Linked DNA regions of Homo sapiens: regions 1 and 2 are each linked to region 3. The links are contacts of gene promoters, found by promoter capture Hi-C in blood cells and fetal thymus (Javierre and others, 2016). All regions are on one chromosome and are shown on one strand. The core of a region is centred on a gene start or on the middle of the fragment in contact, and the rest is flanking DNA. Distances in the headings are between cores, read along the strand shown.

Evidence for each region. The method cuts DNA at HindIII sites, captures the fragments that hold promoters and counts their contacts. A CHiCAGO score of 5 or more calls a contact.
Region 1: a fragment that was not itself captured here is called in contact with the fragment with the promoter of SLC24A3-AS1 in region 3 in 1 of 17 cell types (M2 macrophages); the score reaches 5.7 in M2 macrophages.
Region 2: a fragment that was not itself captured here is called in contact with the fragment with the promoter of SLC24A3-AS1 in region 3 in 4 of 17 cell types (megakaryocytes, M0 macrophages, M2 macrophages and 1 more); the score reaches 8.5 in megakaryocytes.

Annotation. Positions count from the first base shown.
Region 1 is chr20:19,606,334-19,609,796 of GRCh38, forward strand. The region is part of intron 6 of SLC24A3 (solute carrier family 24 member 3); the gene reads left to right. Among named protein-coding and RNA genes, the nearest start is that of RIN2, 150 kb to the right of the region's middle. The HindIII fragment of the contact is 4,367 bases long and covers 1-3,463 here.
Region 2 is chr20:19,583,845-19,586,995 of GRCh38, forward strand. It overlaps SLC24A3 (solute carrier family 24 member 3), which reads left to right. Exons shown (of 17, transcript NM_020689.4): 5 at 1,127-1,211; 6 at 1,597-1,700. Among named protein-coding and RNA genes, the nearest start is that of RIN2, 170 kb to the right of the region's middle. The HindIII fragment of the contact is 3,137 bases long and covers 209-3,151 here.
Region 3 is chr20:19,282,937-19,286,009 of GRCh38, forward strand. SLC24A3-AS1 (SLC24A3 antisense RNA 1) reads right to left here and starts at 1,660. Exons shown (of 8, transcript NR_024564.1): 1 at 1,209-1,660; 2 at 203-279. The region is part of intron 2 of SLC24A3 (solute carrier family 24 member 3); the gene reads left to right. The HindIII fragment of the contact is 4,681 bases long and covers 350-3,073 here.

The DNA.
Region 1 (3,463 bases), core at 319-2,818, 320 kb after region 3:
GGAATGATTCTGGTTGACATTGGCTCAGGCAGTGCCCATAGAGATAATAGCAGTTGGTATTGATTTTATTTTTTATTTTGTAGCTCAGGGTGTTTAAAAATGTTTGGTGCTGAAATGCAAAAACACAAAATTTTTGCAGGGGATTTTAAGCTCCAGTAAAGCTCTAAAACCTCTCACTAAATTTGAATCTGGATGACTGCTTTGCAAATGATATTCATCTGACTTTGATGAGTGAATTTTTAAACTCAGGGAAGTAACCGCTTCTTTGTGCATAAATATAAATAGGAAGCATTTGTGAATCCCTCATATGTAGGAGGGAGATGAGAAAAGCAGGGACTTATAGGACTGAGAATGCAGAGGGAAGAAGGCCAGGGAAGGTCATGAACCAGAGGAGAATGCCCATGGCATAGAAGGATGTCAGAAAGCAGGAGGTCCAATCCCTCATTTTGCAGGTGAATGAACTGGTGGTCAGAACAGGGTGTGGCCTGTGCAAGTCCACACAGTGAAGAACTATCAAACTAGGACTTGAACCCCACTGTTCTGCTTTGGTCATTCCAGTGTATATGTGGACAGTGTGCGGCCAAGCCATGCCTCACACTTGGTACACCTGTCAACCCTTGTCCCTCTGCAGCCCCTCAGGCCCCTCTGTGAATTAAGGAAGAGAATGTAGGCATAGAAGAGGGTTGGACGTGTGAATGAGTTTAGATGTTTATCTTCAAGGAAGCCACCAGAAATATGAGTCAGTTCACAGACGTCCTTTGAGAACCCATAACATGGGACTTGCCTCCTTCTCCTGCCCTGATCCCCAATTGAAACTGATTCTTTAGACTCCCCATAGTTCTTTTTCCTGGACACCAATCCAGTGAACAATCTCACTGTGCATCCTCTCCACCTGCTGTACTCTATGGAATGCTTTCTTCCTCCTGAAACCCCTCTTTTCTCACCCCAAATGGTAGCATTCCTTCTCCCACAGAGATGCTCTTGGCCACACCTCCTTCAAAAGGGATGGTCTCATCTGATCTCATGACATCAGTCCCCTCCTCTGGCACCCCACTCCTCATCCTTGGTCTTGATTTTTCTCCCATCCTCATGACTTAGTTTACAAATGGGTGCCAGATCTTTCCAGCCCGGGCCTTCTGAGGCAGGCTCCAATTGGGGGTCTAAGCTATGAACTAAATTACTTGCTCATTAATGTACCATTTCACCTGAGTTCTTCTGGTACATTGGGTGCACCTTTGTGGTTTCTGTCACTCAGCCTTTAAGCCTCAGCTTCATGGCCGACTGTCCACATCCAGACTGCTGTCAAATCTAATCAATTCTTCCACTGTAGCATTTCTCATCCTGCCCCTTGCTTTCCAAGTCCACTGCACCATACACTCCAGACCTCCACTCTTGGTCAACTGGACTGCCAAAGTCCCCTCACCCCTGTCTCTCTGTTCTTTATCCTCTGCTCCATCAAATTCATTTTCATACTGATAAGGCTTCCTGAGCCTCCACTCTGACGTTGCCTCTTGCCTGAAAGGCCCCCTTTGCTGGTCACATCCCAGTAGCCCTTTCTCATGTCTAGCTGTCTTTCCCCTGTCCATATCTACAGCAGAACTGAACTGCTCGTTGTGTCTTACCTTTGTTGTCTTACCTGTGTGCTTGTGCTTATGTTGTTCTTCCTAACCAGAATGCCCTTTTTCATCTCTGTTCACTTCAACCCATCTCCCAATTTTAAAAGTGCAAGTCATTTTTGTCCTTCAAATCTGTAGTCTGTGTCACCTCCTGCAAGAAGCCTTCCCTGGTTTCCCCAGGTGGACACAATCTTCTCTTCTTTGAACTGCCATAGCAATCTTTCGGTTTTATCTTGATATTGGTGTGGGCCGATGATAGTCTTTAATAGACTCCTAAACTTGTTCGTCTGAATTGATTGTTCTGGTATTTGCTTTCTTTGGTGATGATGATATGGAGTAAGAGTGTATAGAAAAATACATACACAGATGACTGTTAATTAGCAACATAAGATTTAAATACATATTAAAGACCACAAGAAATGTGAAGTTACTGGTTGGTAAATGATTACCAAATGGATTGTACAGACTTCAAGATCCCAATGCATCATTCTACAACATGAGTTAAAGTCAGTCCTTTAATATCTGTACCATTTGCTGGTGTCTTCTCATTTAGGACACACAGTTCTATGAGAAGCATAACTAGGTAAATAACTTTTCTTTGCAGATTAGCAATACTTGCTCCATTTTTCATGTATGCTTTGGTTGTTTCTATAGAATGACCGTGTCACAATAAGGCTTTTAAAAAGAATAATAATATGTTTTTTAAGTTGTCAAAAAGGAGGGTGTAATGTATAATGGAGGCAGAGGTTCTTCGTTGATCTAAGTTCAGCATTCATTATCTGAATCACTGCTGTTGGCAGGTTGCATAGGAAAGCAAACTTGTCAAAACACACAATATTCACTAATGATCTGACCGCTTTAAAAACCTAGGCCCCCTCCTACTTTTTTTCCTGCTTAACAATAGCATCTCTCCCCATTCATTACATAAGCCAATTTTTGGCCATTTGTTGGAAATTGTAACATTCCCATAAAAATACAAACTGACTGCAAACTGAAACTGAAAATCTGGCAGAGATAGAGGGTTTCATGAGGCAGACGTGTTGAATGATGTCTCCATCCCACGTACAAAGGCATTAATGAAGGAGGCTCCTGCAATTGAGGAAGAAAAAAAGTCAAGGATGACAACCCAGGTTCTCTATCCCCCCAAAGAAAATGATACTAATATTAAAGGATCAGGATGGAGACTTGGAAAACTTGATGAAACTCTTGAATGTTTTTCCCCAAACTCTCTTTATGACCATGCAGGAAAATGAAATACGAAGGAGGGGGTTATTATCTTATGTTCTTCTACCATTTTATGGGGAAATTACACCAAGGAACAATTAACTTGGTGGCAGGACATGGTTGCTCTTATAACCTGATTTTTTTTTTTCAGTTATAAAGACTTTTATTTCTGTCCTACCACAATAGAGAAATCTTAATTTTTTAGTATTTATTTTTATGTATGTATTTATTTATTTTTTAATTTTACTTTAAGTTCCAGGATACATGTGCAGACTGTGCAGGCTTTTGTTATATAGGTATACATGTACCATGGTGGTTTGCTGCTATCAACCTGTCATCTAGGTTTTAAGCCCCGCATGCATTAGGTATTTGTCCTAATGCTCTCCCTCCCCTTGCCCCCCACCTCCAACAGGCCCCGGTGTGTGTTGTTCCCCTCCCTGTGTCCATGTGTTTTCATTAGAACCTAAATTTTTAAGAAAACATTAGGTTCACATGTTTTGCTTTTGAAGCTAAAATCTCAATGCAACCATTCTTTACTTATGCAACTTATTCCCATTTCAGGTAGTTTACCTGACCATGTCTTTTCTTTACCAGCTATCCTCATATTTATTAAGTTTAAATAA
Region 2 (3,151 bases), core at 527-3,026, 300 kb after region 3:
TCGGCATCCCATGTGAAGCTTCGCTGTCCAGCCGACAGCGAAGCGACCCAGGATCCTAGATCAAAATCCTCAGTTAGGGCTTCTCCTGCAGACTATTGTGGGTCACTCAATGGAGGCCAGTGACCTACATCAGGGCCACACCGCCCCTCTCTGGCTGAGCAAGGAAGTGCAGCTGTAGGTGCCACTGGGAAGAGAAGGATGTCACTCAAGCTTGACTGCCAGGAGGGAACTGGCTATTCACTGGCAGCCAGCAGCATACTTTCTGGGTCATGACTGAATGCAGAAATGCAAAATCTGGTTACCAGCCTCTAATGTATAATTGCCTTGTCTTCTTGTAAATCACCTTTTGGTTTAACAAACAGAGTAACCTGGAGAGCTCATTGTATAAACCCCGTCTTGGCAGGGCTGATGCCTCATTACCTTCTTTTCAGCCTTAAGCCCCCACTCCCACTCTCTGATCCCGGGGTTTCCAGAATGCCTCAAGGAAGGGGAGTGGGTTTCAGGAGGGTGATCCCCACATCCACACCCCAACATGCCTCCATAACCTCCTAAAGACTCACAAACTGGTTACCATGAGCGTCATTTAGCCTGAGATCAGCATAGTATCACAAAAATCAGGAAGTTTTGCATAAAAGGTTGGATTATTGGCATCTCTTAAAAATCAGAATATCTGGCCACACTGAGGGAACTGGGCAATGCTGCCCATAGAAAGAGGTGAATGCCCCCACCATAGCCTCAGACCTACCGCCTGCTGTGGCCTCCCATGGGCCCACTCCACTCCTGACTGTCATCTGCACAGCCCCTGCGGGAATTGGGTTGAAGACCCCTAGATCTTCCCAAGAGCCTTTAGCTCATAAGGACATGTAGTTCCCTCCCCAAACCTGTCCCTTAAGGAGGACATTGAGAGGAGCTCTGACTCAGCAGGGGATCGGCAGCAGTGGCTGCGCTCTGTGAGAAGGAGAAGGAGGCTGAGAGGGACTAAGTACCAGCCCCAGGTCCCATCGGTCCTACTCTCGCTGAAGCCCCAGTCTTTGCTTCTCAGGGCTTGGACTCTCGGGTGTCACAGTCACCTCTCTTCCGAGATGGAATCCCAACTCACCTGTGCTTTGTCTTTGCTCCTCTGTAGCGCCTGCACCTCAGTGAAGATGTGGCTGGGGCCACATTCATGGCAGCGGGAAGTTCGGCCCCAGAGCTGTTCACATCGGTCATAGGTAGGTGACAGACTGAGGGACATCTCAGACCTTCACTGTCTGAAGGAAAAGGGCTCTGGGAATGGATGGCCCCCAGACCGAGATTGTCTGCCACTCATAGAAAATGATAATCCAGGGACCCCAATGAGTAGAACATCAGCCTCCCATCTGCCGTTGTTGTTTTATTTAAGTGATGCTTTTACTGTGCATGAACTTGTCCCAGACCCCAAGCCCATCACACTCCTGTGCAGCTATCATCCCTCTGTAGATTAGAAAGCTCTCTCCACCCCTCAGCTGTTTCCTGTAGATTCTGAGAACAATCTAATGCTTATGAAAGGTTCCCCATGCCCACCTTGGAATGCAACAGGGCCACAACAGCCAGGCTGATGTGGGATCTGTGTTTCAGGGGTCTTCATCACCAAAGGCGATGTGGGAGTTGGCACCATCGTGGGCTCAGCGGTATTCAACATCCTGTGCATCATTGGTGTCTGTGGGCTCTTTGCTGGGCAGGTAAGACTGGCGGCTTCTTTGTGATGGCAAAATGTGACATTGGGGAAAGGGGAGGCATGGAGTTTAGGCAGGAGACTGTCTTGCTGGAACACAACTTGCATTAGGGCCCAGTGGTTTGGGCAGCAGTGATTTGGGACCTCACATCCCAGGAGGCTGGCCCAGCTAGAAGTGGAAACTGGTAATCCACCATTACTTGGTCTCCATGTTGATGGAATATAGAATGCTCAGGTCCACATAAATAATTAACCAGACTGAAAGATGTGGGTTACAATCTGAAGGGTTCCACATTCATTTTGGTATGTTACTGATCTGAACTAGAATGGCCTAAAACAATTTTAGGTATGATTTTTGCTCATTGGAAATAGAATACATGAGAATCTGCTAAACACAATGAGAATACATGAGAATCTGCTAAACAAAACATGCAGTCATCACGGTTTAGGACACAGCCTAACCTTTTTTGACTGTGGTAGAGCATTTCATTTCTCTATTATAACGTGCCTTTGGGGTTATGAAGGGCTTAGCAAGCCTGCAGTTTACCTATGGAGTTGATGCCACTTCCAGGTGGTGTCCTGCTATCTGAGTTCTTTATGAATACTGGCGTCTGTTTTGGAAAGTCTGGGGAAGGTGCTCAGAAGCCACTGCGTGGGAGGCTCTGGGCGACAAGCCTACACTGCAGCAGCACCTGGAGGTTTGTTTGCAGGGTTTGCAACTGTTTTGCCAACTCTGATATCCTAAATTTCTTCATAGGGATTTTATTCAGAAACAACACAACCCTGAGATCTCTGCCCAAATACCCACAACTTTGTGTATCTTCTAGTAAAAGGCACTTCTAAAAGCTCATGGAGGCTACTCCACTTACAATATCAAGGAACCTGCTGATCCTAACCACTTGATCAGCAGCCTTGATATGAACAGTGCACTGTTCTCCTAGAAGTGGCTGATTGGGTCAGGGGGCTAAGGAAAGCCCCGGGGCAGCCTTCCCCCTACCCTTTGCCAGGGCCCTCACCCCACAGCAGCGGCAAGGGGCACCCCATGCTGCCCGTTCCACTGATGTAGACTCGAGGGTCTCCATGCAGGATACCCCGGGTCCACCATTGCATTCTCCACTGCCCATTTTTACTTCCGTCATCTTCGTGCCTATTGATTTGTCTGGATTGCCTGGTGTGTCAGTTGCCTTCAGGTGACACGCAGAGGGACACCTGGATCTCATCGGGATTCAGCTCCAGGGCCCACAGGTGGATGGGTCCCTTCTATCTGGAAAAGGGGCTCCCAGTACATGGTGACTGAGCTCTGCTCAGCTCCTTAGACTGAATGATTTCCCTCTTCTCATCCTCTCAGTCAATGAGCTCATGTCTTAGATTTTGTGTACCCACAATATGTGCTTTTTAAATCTCCCATAAATGTAGTTAGTATTTTTTTAAAAAATGAGTCTCTGCCTTTGCCTTTGG
Region 3 (3,073 bases), core at 410-2,909:
AGATAGAAAAGAAAATGTCTAGGTAGATAAAAAGAACGTGAACCCGGGATCTGCCTGTGTTGGCAGGGGCCACACAGGGAAAGGGAGGAGAGGAAAGGCTTCAGGAGGAATATGGGAGGAAGCAAAAGCAAGCTGAGTCATGCTGCGAAAAGCAGGTCCAAAGGGAATATGGATCCAGGAGGGACAATCTTGATTTCCTTACCTGCAGACCAAAAGAACCGGGCTTGGTTTCTGAGGCCCTTGATTCAGAACCAAATTCCACAAGGAAGATGATCATGCCTGAAACAGGAGAAGTTCTGTTCAAATCCTAACACATCAAGGGCTGGGTCAGAGCCCACGTGCTTCATGAAGCTTGCTTGGACCACCCCAGACTGCAGCATTCTTTTCTGACTGCTGCTGGTATAAAATGTCTCCACATGTGCTGTTAAATATGGACATTCAATGGCAATTTCAATTCAAGTGAATTCAAACCAACTAAAATTAAATATTCAGATTCTCAGTTGCACCAACTACATGTCAAATACTCGATAGTTGGATCACAGATGACAGCACAGGTCCCAAAACATTTCCATCATCACAGAAAGAGCTATTGGACAGGGTGGTCAGAACTTGCAGTTGTCTTTGGATGTATCTCCTGTCTTTCCAGCCCAATTGCAAACATCTCAAGGGTGTAGAGCAAATATGTAAATCTGAGGGCCTTATCTCTACCCCGGGTCTTAGAGTCACACTGACCTGAAGCTGTGGACTTTGGCCAAATAGCCAGGTTCTCAGAGTCTCTGTGTGCTTCTCTAGAAGTTGACATCATCATTCTGATCTTTCATGATTGCTGTGAGAATTACTAATAAAGTGTGGACAGCTTAGTGCCCTGGGTTTGATGGCACTGTAGTAGGAGTGTATTCGTGAATTTCCCACCCTCTGTCCTGGGGCATCATTACGGGTGGGGCACAGTGCAAGATTCCTAGAGCAACATTCTCCAGCTACTCCCTGCAGAGCGAGTCTGTCAGCAGGCCACACCGCAGGTAGCTCAGGTCTAAACAGACCGTCATCTAGACAGGAGGCTTCAGTACCATCTTCCCATGTAGGCAAGCCCTGAAGACCTCAGGCTTGGCAATGAATGCCATCATCTCTGCTGCATTGACTATTTCTAACAACAGGATCAGAACATTGCCACAGACACATGTGAGCCCTGGTTACCTCCATGCCCTTACCAGAATGCTGTCGAAGCTGGCTCCTCGGTCTGGACTGGACAGATATTTTATGAAAAAAGTTGAGAGCCAAAGCACCCATAAGGTCCTGATTTAGAAGCATCATTTTAATAATATTCATCTTCTCTGCCTCTAACTTGTTGTTGGGTGAAATGGTTGAGCAGGAGTGAGGTGAGGGCAGGTTCATTCTAAAACTTTGTTCAGTTTTCCTTAAGAGGCCCTGGGCACAATGAATACTACTTGTGCTGGTTAAATATAGTGCCATCTGCCCTCGAAAATCTTAAATAGAGAGGCTAGGAAGTGAGCCCTGTGGTTCCTGGACTCTCTCCCTTCCTATTTATGATGATGTCAGCGGCAGCAGTACACTTAACAGAGCCTACGGAGCAGGCTTCCCTCTGTGCTTGGAGGAGTGAAGATTTACACAGGGACTTGAGTGTTTGGGGTGCAGTGTGTGTCCTGGCTGTCTGAGTTATGGTGGCAAGGTCACAGGCAGGAGTTAATTTGGCATTTGTCATAAAGTACACCCAGCTGCCACTTGTGATGTCATGGGGCTTCTCAGACTGTGCTGTCAGAAGCCCTGGCTTTAGATGCTATTAGAGGAAGCCTGTAGATTCAGAGACTGGAGACAGAGTTACCTCTATTCTGGTTATATTCCCTGTTGGGGCATGATTCTGGTTTGCCTCTCAGATTACCATTTCCTCACCTACAAAATAGATCTTCAACTACATTTATCCCTTCCCTTGCACACATCCATTTATTCCAAGAAATTTCAAGAATAGAAATTCAAGAAAACTTCTTCCCCTTGACACTCTCCCATTTCCCTTAATAACTGCTGTGTTTGCAGAATTCCATGCCATACCTCAAGCCTTCCTCTACTCCCTCTCCCCTCCTCCCCTTCCCTCTGCCCTGCCTTCTCCCTTTCTCTCTGTCTGAAAACCAGGAGCACAGAGTGCCCAGTTTTGGTGCCAGAGAAAGCCCAGGGTGCTGTCTTCTGATGACAGCTGCTACTTTAAGGATATATTACTTTATACATTTTCTGCTTTCAAAAAAATGGCACTGGGCGCGGTGACTCACGCCTATAATCCCAGCACTTTGGGAGCCCAAGGCGGGTGGATTACTTGAGGCCAGGAGTTCGGGACCAGCCTGGGCAACATGGTGAAACCCCATCTCTATAAAATGTACAAAAGTTAGCCAGTCGTGGTGGTGTGAGTCTGTGGTCCCAGCTACTTGGGGGGCTGAGGTGGAAGGATCAACTGAGCCTGGGAGATGGAGGTTGCAGTGAGCTGAGATCACTCCACTGCACTCCAGCCTGGGTGACAGAATGAGACCCTGTCTCAAAAAAAAAAAAAAAAAAAAAAAAAGGCATTTTTCCTTTGCCCCTTGAAGACCTAGTTTTGGTAGAAATTTGTGATTTTTTTTTTTTTTTCTACCTTCAGAACTGCATGAACAAGACTGACTGACCTCCGGGCTCCAACTTTTCTTTGCAATTGTTCCAGCTCTCTGTGAATTTTTAAGGTTGTTTTCTTAGCCTGACACTGCCGACTTCATCTGAAGCCTGGAAACATTTTTTTTTTTTTCTTTTGGCAAGTAACACTTGAAATTGTTTACTCAGATGACCTATTAAGAGAAATTTAACTTTGAATAATTTGATCCATGGAAAATTAAGTTAGCTAAATGTAATATTGAAGATGGTAGACAACTGTAGCAGAAATGAATTCTTTGTAATATTTATTTGTGCACTTTACAGAATTTTATTTATACACTTTGCAGTGTGTCTCCAGAAAAATATATCATCTTTTGGTTTTTGGTTCCTTGATATTTTAAGGAAATGAGCTTTTCCTCAGAGTGCTTTTTCCAAATAAACTTTG